3 separate regions of the Homo sapiens genome follow, and regions 2 and 3 are each linked to region 1. Evidence: promoter capture Hi-C in human tissues and cell types (Jung and others, 2019). All regions are on one chromosome and are shown on one strand. The core of a region is centred on a gene start or on the middle of the fragment in contact, and the rest is flanking DNA. Distances in the headings are between cores, read along the strand shown. Region 1 holds the start of IGSF21 (immunoglobin superfamily member 21). Region 2 has its middle 110 kb from the start of LINC01654. Region 3 overlaps IGSF21 (immunoglobin superfamily member 21).

What was found. Contacts are between HindIII fragments. The study calls those that stand out against the background at their distance.
Region 2: a fragment that was not itself captured here is called in contact with the fragment with the promoter of IGSF21 in region 1 in 2 of the 25 tissues and cell types used here (liver and spleen).
Region 3: a fragment that was not itself captured here is called in contact with the fragment with the promoter of IGSF21 in region 1 in 1 of the 25 tissues and cell types used here (hippocampus).

What each region holds. Positions count from the first base shown.
Region 1 is chr1:18,106,018-18,110,359 of GRCh38, reverse strand. IGSF21 (immunoglobin superfamily member 21) reads right to left here and starts at 2,562. Exons shown (of 10, transcript NM_032880.5): 1 at 2,162-2,562. The coding sequence starts at 2,231. The HindIII fragment of the contact is 17,740 bases long and covers 1-4,342 here.
Region 2 is chr1:17,954,373-17,958,714 of GRCh38, reverse strand. No RefSeq gene overlaps it. Among named protein-coding and RNA genes, the nearest start is that of LINC01654, 110 kb to the left of the region's middle. The HindIII fragment of the contact is 4,529 bases long and covers 52-4,342 here.
Region 3 is chr1:18,242,676-18,247,017 of GRCh38, reverse strand. All of the region lies in intron 2 of IGSF21 (immunoglobin superfamily member 21), which reads right to left. Among named protein-coding and RNA genes, the nearest start is that of IGSF21-AS1, 69 kb to the right of the region's middle. The HindIII fragment of the contact is 8,753 bases long and covers 1-4,342 here.

The sequences.
Region 1 (4,342 bases), core at 1,313-3,812:
CTCGCACCCCGCCCCCCATTCTGGGCACAGACTTGGAAGGAGGAAGGAGGGACCCCACCCTCGTGTGCTCTCCTCTGCGGAGAAGAGAGGGCTCCCGGCTGCCTCGGATCTCCCTCTGCGCCCCAGACGCGGAAAGTTTCCCATTCGCGATCCGCGTCTGCGCTCTTCCTTCATCCTGAGCAGCGGAGCTCCGAGGCCGCGCTGGCTGCACCGGCCCAGATGCGCTCACCCTCAGGCACGCCAACCCCCGCCTCCCGCAGCCCGCAGAGGCGGGCAAAGGGATTTGAGGCGTCAGGATGCCGGGTCAGCTCTCTGCAGCCGGGCAGCCAGAAGAACCCTGCTCCCGGGTTCCAGGGAGAGCTCGCAGGGTGGGGTCCTGACGGAGCCAGGGTTTCCCAACAAGCCCTTCTCATCAGTCCTCTCCTTCACCCTGCCGCGTCTCTCTGTTCTGCGCATTCCCAGGGAAAGGGGTGCTTACCTTAGGTCCCCAGCCTCCAACCCCCGCCCCCTGCAATGTCCAGGTGAGGGCTCCAGTGCCTTTCAACAAACCCCAGTGCCCTCTCGGCGGCGCTGGAACGAGGACCTCCCCCATGTAACCTTTCCCTCTAGAGCCCTCCTCCCAAAGTTGAGGGGGGACATTTTGATCCACTTAGGAAAGTCTCTTGTTCCAAGGGTAGGGGAACAAAGTACAGGGTTTGCATTCCTTCTGGGTTACACCAACCCCTCCCCCCTCGCTGTCAGGACCACCTTCCGGGCTCAAATTCTGCAGCTTCTCCCATCAGCAGACCCAGCACTCCCCAAGGACTTCGGGGTAGAAGGAGTTGGGGTTATTTTTAAGGGGGCACCCCTTCCTGGCAGGCACTCTCAGAGCCTAGGTAGGCACCTCCTGCTGGGACAAGGCTATGGCATAGGACAGAGGTGATGCCCACCTCTATCATCCAGTGGGGCTCGGGGTCGAGACCTTATTGATCATAAAGACGACTTTTTGGCACCTCGCGTCCCGCTCCCCTCCGAGGCGGAGCCAGGCTCTGACTCCAGCCAGGCTGAGGTTGGCACCAGGCTCCGAGGAGGATCCCGGACGCGGAGCCTGTAGTCTCGGTGCCTGCGGCTCTTCGCTGGTCCCGCCTCCCTCCCTCCTGGCTTTTAGCCTCACGTTGGCTCTCTGCTCACTGCGCGAAAGGGTTCAGCTCCATTTAAGACCCACTACGCGGCGGCACTGGGTGGGAGGCCGGCCGCGGACCCTGGGGCTGCGGAGCCACCTCTCACTGGCTCCGGAGAACCCGCTCGGCTTCAACCTCCTTCTAGCTGTCTTAGCCTAACCCGGGAGCAAGTCCACACGGCGGGACACACACACACACACACACACACACACACTGAGCTGCTCACAACTCCCCAGCCCCGGAAGCGTCCATACCTCCCTGCACACGATAACCACACGCTCCATGGCACGCATACACACACTCCCAGCCCCATGAAGCCCACGACTCCCAGGCACCTGCACCCCCACCCATCCCACATAAGCAGACTCTTGTCCAGTGTCACAGTCCCATCTCCTGTGCACACAGAAATAGTAATCCGCTGTCGTACACCCCTAGAGACCTGCACACTCGGGACACACGTGAAACGCCAAACCTCACATACCCACCCCCTAACACCTCACACCCACAGTGACACAAGCTCACACACTTCACACCCTCACAGGGAAGGTGGCACATGTTCACACCCTCCCCCCAACATTCGCTCACACTCTCACACACACACCTTCTCCATGTAACTGACACAGACACTCTAACACCCATCCAGACCCTCGCTCACTCACACGCAGACCCCACACCATCACACACACACGCACACACACACTTGCATCTCTAAATACACTCCCGCACCTTCTGCCCACACAGCTCCTTCCCGGACACCCTCACCCAGACACACAACAAAGACACACAATTTACACACACACACACACCCTGGCACAAATCCATGAGCGCTCTCCAAGAGGCGTCCTCCCTCCCTCATCGAGCCAACCAGCTCCACAGACCCCGGGCAGGACCGGTGCTCGTAGCCCGAGCCTCTCGGAGCGACCCCGGCCAGCGCCCTCCCCCGGCACCCCGTCCCCGCGCACGTTCACCGCTCGGCTCCCGCCAGGCGCCCGCGCACTCACCGCGCGCCAGGTCCAGGATCGCGGCGAGCAGCAGGCAGACGCAGCGGCGGAGGCTCGGGGCGGTTCGCATGGTGCCCGGGAGCTGGCGGCGGTGGCGGGGCGGCGGGGGTGGAGGCGGTGGCGGCGGGTCCCCTCGCCATGGGCTCAGACGCGCTCCTGCCTCCGGCCACTGGCCGAGGCGGTGGCGGGCAGCGCGGAGAGCCGCGGGGGCGCCCCCATGCCGCCGCGGCCAGGCAGCCCGGGCGCCCGGCTCGACTCGGCTCCGGCTCTGCGAGGCGCAGCGACCCTCGCGCTCTGGGCGTCCTCGGGGCTCGCCGCGGTTCTCGGCTCCCTAGCTGCGCGCGGTGCCCACCGCGGCCCAGAGTCCGATCGGCTGCAGCGCCGGAGTTTGGAGCCGAATCGCGCTCTCTGCCTCGCGCTCGCCTCTCCCGGCGGCGCGAGCACCCCCCTCCTCTCGCCCTCCCTCCGTCCCTCCCCCTCTCCCCGCCCCCCCGCCCTCCTTGCCCTCCCCTCGCCGCGCTCTCCGCGTATTATACAGACTTTTCTTTAATCCTTTCTGGGCTGTTCGGCTCTCGTCCGCTAAGCCGATTTATTGCAGGGAGAAGGAGAGCTCACCCCCTCCTAACCTCCCCTCTCCCCTCACTCAGGTCCCCCCTCACTCAAAACTGGCTTGCTGCCTCCAGCTTCTTAACCCTTACCCAGGTGACCCAACACCCCGCCCTGGAAGCTATGCTCCATCGGATCCGCCTTTACCTAGCCCCTCCTATCCCCGGGATTACCATCGCCCTCCCCGCTACTCAGCCTGATGAAAGGAGGCAGCCTCCCTCCCGAGAGGGAAAGATGCCATCCTGGGAGCAGGGCAGGCAGGGTGTGGCTCTGGAGTTCTGACCTTGCCAACGATGAATGCCCTCATTGGGCAAGATTAAGGGGTTTCCATGTTCTGAAACTTCCCCAATTACGGCTGCTCCTTCCCCCAGGGACCCACGGAAATGGGGTGTGTTCTGTCTTTTTCCCATGTGCTAGGATCCAGCCAGGAAGGGTGAGGAACTGATTGTTTCCTCCTGGCAGAGACCAAGTTTCCACCTTTTTGCCAGACCTGACAGCTTTTCTTCCCAGGTCCGAGAAGAACAGGTTTGGGACTTGTATGTTACCATTACTCTCCCACCAACACACACGCGAGCACACACACACACACACACACACACACACACACACCATTGAGCCTCAGCCCTGGCGGTGGACTTTGAGGCCTCCTGCGAGGATGAAGGGGAGGGGTACTCTAGCCCTTGGAGTGGACTGGGGATGTGGTTAGATGAGGAAGTTCAGGAGATAGAATTTCACCATTGGTAGGGACCCAGAAGATTGGCAAAGCCCAGAAAAACCAGCACGACCAGGGGCAAAACCTGCTCAGAACTCAGGTGGGTCCCTTTACCCAGGCCTTCTATGGAGAATCTCCAGCTTCCCTAGCTCTGGCAGGTTGCTGAGTCAGGCTGTTGCATCGTTTACCTACATGGGCAATGGGTCTATAGCCAGTTCCATCTCCAGCAGCCCTCTGAGAGGAGTGTAGGGAGTGGGGTGGGCAATGGGTGGTTGCTGGGCTGCCTCTGGGTGAGCTTTGTGCAGAGATGTCCATGAAAGTGAACTGCTCCCTCCTCCTGCCCTCTGGAACCTCACCCCATCGCCTCCCAAGGCAGCTCTGCGGCTCAGCTTGCTCACCCACCCCAGAAGGAGCGATTTGCATTTATGAAGATCTGAAAGCATACGTTCACCTGACAGGCTTTAGAATGATCCTCTCAGTAAAATAATAATAATGATCATAATAAACCCTTATAAATAGGTGTTTGATTACAGTTTGTCCCTAAGTGGGATTTTTTTTTTTTTTTTTTTTTTTTTTTTTTGTGAATCAGACTAATTGGTTCCAGGTTGATTGGACTGCATATGGCTTGAACACTTGATGAACACTGGAGTCTTAGGTCCTTTCTTCTCCCTTTGGCTGCTGTTCTTTGCTCCCTCTCACTCGCATCCACCCAGGTCTCCCCTTCTCCAGGCTGCTGAGGGTCAGCTTGAGGTCACCTCTCCCCCTCACCTTCTTCTCAGGCTGCAGGGCACAGTCCCTTACTGCCTCCTCCCTGGCCCTCCCTCCCCACTCTGACCCAAGAAAAAGTCAACAAACCCAAAAGT
Region 2 (4,342 bases), core at 1,067-3,566, 150 kb after region 1:
GTATAGAAAAAAGAAACTTAACAGTTACTTATGTAACCCCATGCCAGGTGCCGAATAGATAACAGACAGGCCCCTCCCAGCCACTGTAGGAGGTCGATCCTCATATGCCTGTTTTGTAAGTAAGGGCATGGAAGATTGGAGGAGGGAGGCAGCTCCCCTAAATCTTATACCTTGTTAAGTGCAAGAGTCAGGACTTGAATCCAGGTCCAGCTGAATACAGGCTATAGCCTTCTTCTGACCATTCCACAAACTCCAGAGAGTCCAGATGCCATCTCAGAGTAGGACGCACAGCAGGGTCTCAGTAAATATTTCCCAAATTATTGAAGGAAAGAATAGAAGAATGGCGAGTGAACTAGGTCAGTGCTTAAGCAACTGGGAGGCGATGCATCTTGAGTTATATTCAGATGCTGAACTGCAGAGGAAGATCAGGTCATCCCAACTCCTCTCTCCCCCAAGGGAGCTGACCACCTCACCAGGGTCATGGGGTGAGTTGGCTGAGGGGTTCGCGTTGCAGCAGGTGGGCTTAGGTGCTCCTCCCATCTTGCATGACTGGAGGGAATGGAGCGCCTCGAACTGGGATGAAGGAAAGAGCACACTCTCTCCCCTTCTGGCTCAATTTGCTCAGCAACAGCATAATGAAGCAATCAGTGGCATCTCTGACAGGCCTGGACACGCCCCAGCACACGATGGCAAATTCAGGCCTGTTCTGAGTTTTGTCTGACATGAAGAAAATGACAGAAAGCATCCTTGAAGAAGAAAGATAGAATGGGAGTGGGGGCTCTTACGTTAGACCTAAGGGGATCTTCCCTACAAAAGGAATTGTCCAGCCCCACGATAGGTGGGAAAACCTCACTTGAGAGCAGATTCCTGTGAAAAGGGCAGGGAATTCTCAATGGGCCTTTCTCATGCAAACCCATTGTGCAATAGAGGAACTGTCCAAAGGAGCTCACCCCACCCTCCAACTTCAGAGCTGGAAGGGCCTTGAAACAGAAAATCTCTTAGATCAACACCCCCCCTTTACAGATCCTGAGGTCCAGGGATGGGTGGGAAGACAGCAAGTTTACACATCGAGGAGGGACCAAGCAGTCACCAAAGATCCCTGTCTCGACTTCTGTCCCAGGCCAGTCACCAGACAAAAGTTTTCTCTGTGGCTCTTTGCTCTGATCTTTTTCCCTTTAGCTGTAGGATTTTTCCCACAGATGAATATCATTTTCCTGTATTATATTTCATGAAACCACTTTGAATCTGTCTACTTTTTGGCCCTGGGACTCTCCAATTAAGACATAGTAAAGAAGACTTTTATAAAGGAATTCAGCAGCACGTAAAAGCAATTAGATTGTAAGTGGGTAACGACTTGAGGGCAATGGGCATTGGCTCCTGGGAAGCTGTCTCTTCCTAAGCTGTCAGTCACTTTGAATCTGGAGCCCTATGGTCTGGGTTCAAATCCCGACTCTGCCATTTTCTAGTAGGATGACTTTGGGCAAGTTATTCTCTGTGACTCAGTTTCCCCATGTGTGAAATGGGGATAATACCACTACTTCCTAAGAAGTGAGATAAAGTAACTGAATACTTATAGAGCATTTGGAACAGAGACTGCCACATAGTAAGTGCTCAATACATATTAGCTACTGTTTTTGGCATGGTGGGGCAGGGGTATGGGAGGCTGGCTTGGCAGAGACCTGATGCTGGCTAGGACTGGAAAGCTCTTCGGAGACAGGCTGGTCTATGACTCTAGAAATGTGGGCTCTAAGTCCAGCTCAGTCATGTAGGTTTTGCTGTGTGGCCTTGAGTAAGTAACCCATCTCCAATCTCTAAGCCTCAGTTTCCCCATCTGGAAAATGAAGTAATAGTACCAAGAAATCTCCACCTTGTACTCCCAACTCTAAGATTAGAAGAGTCAGAAGGCCAGATGCAGTGGCTCACGCCTGTAATCCCAGCATTTTGGGAGGCCGAGGCAGGCGGATCACGAGGTCAGGAGATCAAGACCATCCTGGCTAACACAGTGAAACCCCGTCTCTACTAAAAATACAAAAAAAAAAAAAAAAAAAAAAAAAATTAGCCGGTGCTAATTTTTTAGTGCCTAATTATTTAGGTGGTGGGCGCCTGTGGTTCCAGCTACTCCGGAGGCTAAGGCAGGAGAATGGTGTGAACCCAGGAGGCGGAGCTTGCAGTGAGCTGAGATCACGCTACTGCACTCCAGCCTAGGCGACAGAGCGAGACTACGTCTCAGAAAAAAAAAAAAAGATTATAAGAGTCAGAGGTTTTCACTCGCGGCACAGCAAGGGGAATCTGGCTCAACAGGCCTGCTTTACTATCCTCACCCTAATACAATAGCATTTGTAAATTCCATCCTTCCCATCTAGCCTGTTCTCATCTGACCCATTCTGGGAGATTTTCTCATGGATCTTAGAGTCAGGATAGCCAGGCTGGGCCATCAAAGTCAGCTGTCAGGGCGGAAAGCTTGTCTGTGGGCACTGGGGCTGGCCACTACCTGTCACCCTCCCCACAGGTTCTGTCAACCATCCTCGGGTACCAGTCTCCCTGGCTCCTGAGCCAAGAGACAGTGGGCAGCCTGTCAGAGAAGCTGGACAGATGCTCCTCTAGTGAGGAAATGGGAAGTCCCATGCTGGCTGCTTGCCTCCCTGAGCTGGAGTGCATCTGACAGTCTGAGAAGCAAGGAGAAGGGCTGCTCCCCTTCTCTGCTGGCCTGGCATGTGAACAAGGGACAGGCTGTCCGTGTGAGTCTGGGATGTGCCACAGCACTGCCTCAGTTAAGGGACTTGGGGGAGCAAGGAGGACCTCTTGGGAGCCTTCAGAACCCTCAATTCTTCCTTCCCTCTGTGCTTAGCCACACCCAGCTGCAGATGCAGGAAGCAGGAGAGGGACAGGCCGGGCACAAGTCAGGCCTGAGTGTGGCCCCACTGTGCCCCTCCTCAGCTTCGTGGTTTTGAGTGAGTCATGTCCCTCCTGGGCCTCACTTTCCTCATCTATAAAATGAGGATCCTACTAGGACACACCTGTGGGGTTTGGGGAATGTCTAAAAGAAGAAACAGGAGAATAGCTAACATGGACCTAGCATCTCAGTTTAACAGGCTCTGATCCAAACACTTTACCTGTGTGCTTTATTCACTGTTCATCACAATCCTTTAGAGTAGACACGGAGAGGTTAAGCAACTTGCCCAAGGAGAAGCACAGCTGGTCAGAGGCAGAGCCAGTTCAACCCCGAGCATCTGGCTCCAGACTCTACTCAACTCCTGCTAGTTGGAGAGGGCTTCCAGCACCAGCTAGAAAGCTTGATCAGTGTTAATTTCCCTGCTCTTCCCCTCACTGAGACTAAGTTTGGGCTACTTTGGGAGAGGCTGTGCTCTCCGCTGCTCCAGGAGAGAGAAGCAGAGATGCTTCTGGGCAGCTGCCTTGCACACTGGGCTTCAGTGGTACCAAAAAAATGCCAGCAGCGGCCGGGCATGGTGGCTCACACCTGTAATCCCAGCACTTTGGGAGGCCGAAGTGGGTGGATCACGAGGTCAGGAGTTCGAGAACAGCATGGCCAATATGATGAATCCCCATCTCTACTAAAAATGTAAAAATTGGTCGGGTGTGGTGGTGTGCACCTGCAGACCCAGCTACTCAGCAGGCTGAGGCAGAAGAATCGCTTGAACCCAGGAGGCAGAGGTTGCAGTGAGCCGAGATCGCGTCACTGCACTCCAGCCTGGGTGACAGGGCAAGACTCCATCTCAAAAAAAAAGAAAAAAAAGAAAGAAAGAAAAAGAAAAGAAAAAAGAAAAAAAAATGCTGGCAGCAACCTGAAGGTCCCCCGTGTTGCCCAGGTCTTTTCTGGACTTACCTGCACGGATTCCCACCACCTCTCTCTCTTCCCAAAAGTCCTTAAACAGAGTTTGAAGCCCCATAACCTGGGGGAAACATTTCTTCAAGCACATCAGAATGCAAAAACTTCATTCCCTGATCACCCCATATCACCTGGGGGCACAGGGGTCGGGGGGTATCTTCTAGACCTGGACCCTCCTAAGCCACATCACCAGCCAGGAGCTGGCTTAGGGCACCCAGGCCTGCACTCTGGACCCAGCATCCTGAAGGCTCACCTTTGAGGTCCTGGCCCACAGGTTTAATTCAGTCCAGGTAGAGTGGCAGGAGGTCCAGCCACCAGCTAGCATTAGGATGCTCAGAAGACAAAAGCCTTATCCTCAGGGCAACCCTGGCTCCCAGAGGGAATGGCAAGATGGGGCAGGAATGCCTGCAATTAATTAGATTAAAACCCAAAAGCAGGAATTTTCTTTTAACTGTCTGGCATGTGTCACCATGAGGGAGGGGACAAACGCCTCTG
Region 3 (4,342 bases), core at 615-3,114, 140 kb before region 1:
CATCACGTCTCTGCGCCTCAGTTTTCTTGTCTATACAATGGAGCTACTTGTAGTTCCTCCTTCCGGTGGTGCATGGAGAGCTCTTAGCTTAGTGCCTGGCTCAGCATCAATAACCAACAAAGATTCGCTCTCTTCTCCCTGAGTCCAAAGCAGCTTCCAAACTCAGATGTGTTGAGCTTCACAGAGTCTGCCAAGAGCCTGGGGCAGGGTGCAGAGCCTGAGGACTTCCCGGGATCCTGGGAGGCTCCCAAGCCTGTTGTTGGTGTGGACAGGGCAGCTCTTTGGTGCCGCCAGGGTGCGCTAGACAGGTTGCCACAAACCACACTGCAATTTAGTGTGAATTAATAAAAGATGTCCCAAGCATGGAGTTTGGAGATTACAGCACATACCGAGCTAGCTCCCTCTGCCTTCTCAGTCAGGCACCCCGTGTAGGGTGTAACTCCAGGGACTCCACAGCAAGACACCAGCTGCCATCTTTGCAGGAAGCCAGAGGGGACAAGACCACAGAAATAATTGCAGAGTATGAGCCTGGAGGTTGGAGTCCTAAGCTCCACATGCATAATTAAGCTGACTTGTGTTAGGTGAAGGGAGATTACAAGATACACGCTCATAGGGCTGTCAGATGCTGGGAAGAGTCAGTGCAGTGATGAGACGGAGTAATTAGCTCAAAAACCAAGGGCAAATCTATAGGCAGGAAGGGGTGGGACCTGAGGCAGCAAGAGTCATGCCAGGCAGTGAGGGGGGCCCACTGGGCACTGAGATGCCATCAGCCTCTTAGTGACATTCACCCAGGAAGCAAGAGGGCCTCATTCACAGACTCAGGGAGGGCCTGGGATGGCAGCATGCTGCCATGCCATCTCACACCCCCCAGAGCTGGGATGCTGCTCAAGAGAAACAAAATATAACTGGGACTTTCACTCCTGTTTAATAGCAGCAAGTCCCAGATGCAAGAACAAAAAGAAGGTCAGAGAGCTGGACCATTCAAGGCCAGGTTGCAGGGTAAGGGCATCTATCTTCACCTCCAGGCCAGAAATGACTGCTGCATTCCCAAGCTTTGGTTTCCCCTTCTTTGTCAAGGTTAATTACCCCTGCCCCTTGAAGGGGAGAGTCATCGGTCAGGAGGCAGCCTGACCTGAGGGTTAATGTGTTTGAATCCTGATCTGACTCTAAGTGGTTTGGGACCTCCTGGGATTCATTCCCTCATAAGGCCCCTGCTCTCAATATTCCAGCTGAAGAGGGTACTCCAACCACCCACCCTGCCAAGCAGCAGCAACAGCAGCAGAGGAAACAGATCCTAGCCCAGTGCCTGGCACATAGTAGGCACTCAACACATGCTTGCTCATTGCTAAATGCAATAGATCTAAAAATACAGGAAAGAAGGAAACAAAAATATCAGCTGGGGAGACTGGATGCCTAGACAACTCAGAGAAAGCACTACATGCTTATTAAAGAGAAAAAAAATGAATTCATCTAATTTGTAGGATGCAAGATAAAGCCACAAAAAATCAATTGCATTCTTACATCCCAGAGACCCACAGAAAATCCAATGAAAAAGATCCCATTTATAATAATAAAAAAACAAATACTTGAGAGCTCTTTTAATTTGCTACACAAGCTATTTGTTTAAAGAAATTACAAAAACCCAATGGAGGCTCAATATTAGGAAAAACATCAACATAATTCATTACATTAGTAAATTAAAGGAGAAAAACCATATGATTATTTCAATAGATTTTTAAGGAGCATTTAATTAATTTTTCTTTATAAAAATTCTAGGTGAAATTGGAATAGAAGTAACCTTCCTATTCATAACAAAAAAGAATATTTATCAGAAGCCAGCAGGAAGTATCATATGCAATGTTAAAATTATAAATGCATTCCTATGAAAACTAGGAATAAGACAGGGAAACCCTTTTTTACAAGCATTCTGGAAATTTTAGACAATGGAATAAGGCAAGAAATTATAATCAGTTCAATAAGTATAGCCCTACCAATATTTATATAGCGTCAGGCACTGTCCTAAGTTCATTACATGAGATGAGGAAACTGGAGCACAGAGAGGTTAAGTAACTTGTTAAAAGTCACACAGCTTCTAAGTGGCAATGCTGGAATTTGAATCCAAGTGATCTGGTTCCAGGATATACATTTTTCTACCTTAAAAATGCTGTCTCTCAGGCATTGAGAGGAGAAGTATTATTATTATTATTATTTGCAGATAATATTTTCACATCATAATGCAAAAGATCAAAATAAAAAAAATCTATTAGCACTGATAAGTGTCAGTAAGATGTCTGCATAGAAGATCAATGTGCAATTACCAGTTTCCTTTATTCCACCAGGGCAGGGGCCTCTGTGGCAGCATCCAGCACCAGGCCTGAGACACAGAGGGCTCTCAATAACTATTTGCTGAAAGATGAAGCAACAGGCTCTACGTATGGCACAGTTTGGAAAGGCCACATAGGTCAGCAATGCAGCTGGACTTGTGCAAGGGATCCATTGTTCCGGCATTGAGTCCACTCCTGGGTGACTGGGTTGCCTTTCCTTCACGAGCTTTCAGACACAGAGAAAGGCCCACCCAGCATCACCTGCAACAACCCCTTAAACCGTGATTCCTGTCCTGCCCATCACAGCCCAACACCTAGGTGGGATCAAGGCCCATGGTCCATGCTGGAAAGGGAGAGGGAGGTGAATTCCAAAGTCAGCTCTTTTCATCTGGCAGGCTAGGGCTCCGTCCCTCTTTCTACCATTGCCCAGAGTTGTAGCTTAAGAAATCTCCCGACCGGGGGCAATGCATGGAGCGCTGCCCTTGAATCTGTCCCATGGTCTATGTGCACAGAGAAGTAGAGCACCATCCTGAGAAACGACATTTGCAAAGCGCTTCCAGAATGCTGCATTGGCAAAAGTGTCATTTGTCGTCCAAATCAGGCACTTTTGAGGCTGAACAAGGGTTGCTCTTAACAGTCACCCTCAGATAACAAGCGCCATCTGGACTGTTCCAGGCATGCTTGGTTGCATGGTTGCTGTCATGGCCCTCCACGAGGTCAGTGCTATTATCACCATCCCATTTTATAGACACAGATATGGAGAATGGGGGAGGTGACAGAGGAAGAGGTGGAGGCAGGAGTTGCTCTTGGATCTTTCTGTCTCTAGAGGCACCTTGGCAAAGCAGCATCTTCACTGCTGGTCCATATGCTCGCTCCTCAGGGTTCATGCTGCTCATCTTTGAAATCCCAGCAGCACCCAACACAAGGGCCTGCACATCGTGGATCTGGAGGTGTGGGCTGGCTCCTGTTTACAGAACCCAAATGAGGCTGGTGTGGTGGGAGGTAGTGGAGTGGGCGAGGCCAGAAAGGGGCAGTGCCAGACCGGGTGGTGCCTCCCGGGTTTTATTGTTAAGTATCAGGCAAAACTGAGGAATGATAAGACTGTTCTGATTTCAAAAGGTCACTCTGGCTGCTTGGTGGATACTGGATTTGGGGGCTGAGGGGACAAGAGTGGAAGCAGAGAGTGTGATCAGGAGGGTGCTGACTTGAAGTAGTGATAGAGGCTTCAGCTGGCTTGGAGGCCCAGGAATGGGGAAGAAGCAGTGGATTCAGGGCTTGTCTTTTAGAACGGATTCGATGGAAGAGATGCGGGGAGTGGGCAGGGGCAAGGGATGAGATGTGATAGGAGAGACGCCCTAGATTTTTCGCTTCGGAAACTGGTGGATGGTGATGCCGTTCGCTGAGGTGGAGAAGACTAAGGGAGGGGTAGGTTTAGGGAAGAAATGCAGAGCTTTGCTTTGGCCATGTTAAGTCTGAGATGCTTATCAGACATCTCTAGGGAGGGGTCCAGAGCTTCCTAAAATCGAATGATGATGCTTTTGTGTTTAAAATTTCTTGACTGTTCCCCTTGGATATAGCTCAAGCTCCATTGCAGGGCACCCCAGACTTGGCATAGGTCCCTGATTGCCCTCAGCCTCCTCCTCCTGCCTCCCCTCTTCCTGACCCTTCACTGAGCGCCTGATGGGAGTCAGATGGGCCACCCCCAGGCCTTTGCACCTGCTCTCACCTCTACTTGCCATGCCCACTGTCCCTTCCTCACTCTTGAATAGCTCCAGACAAGGGTGCGGGTCACATGACACCTGTCCCCCCCAGCAGAGTGTGAGCCAGGGATGGCATCTCTAGGCTGCAGCCAAGGCCCTGCCAAGGTTTTCTGCAGGTGTTAGTTCTCTACCTGGAGGGATGAAGGGATGAACGAATAAACTGGAGACTTCCCTAAATTAGAGCCTGCGATTTCAGACAGGCTTCACTTCTCTGTCTCCAAAGAACAGGCTTTGCATGACTTGATATTCATAGAGTAA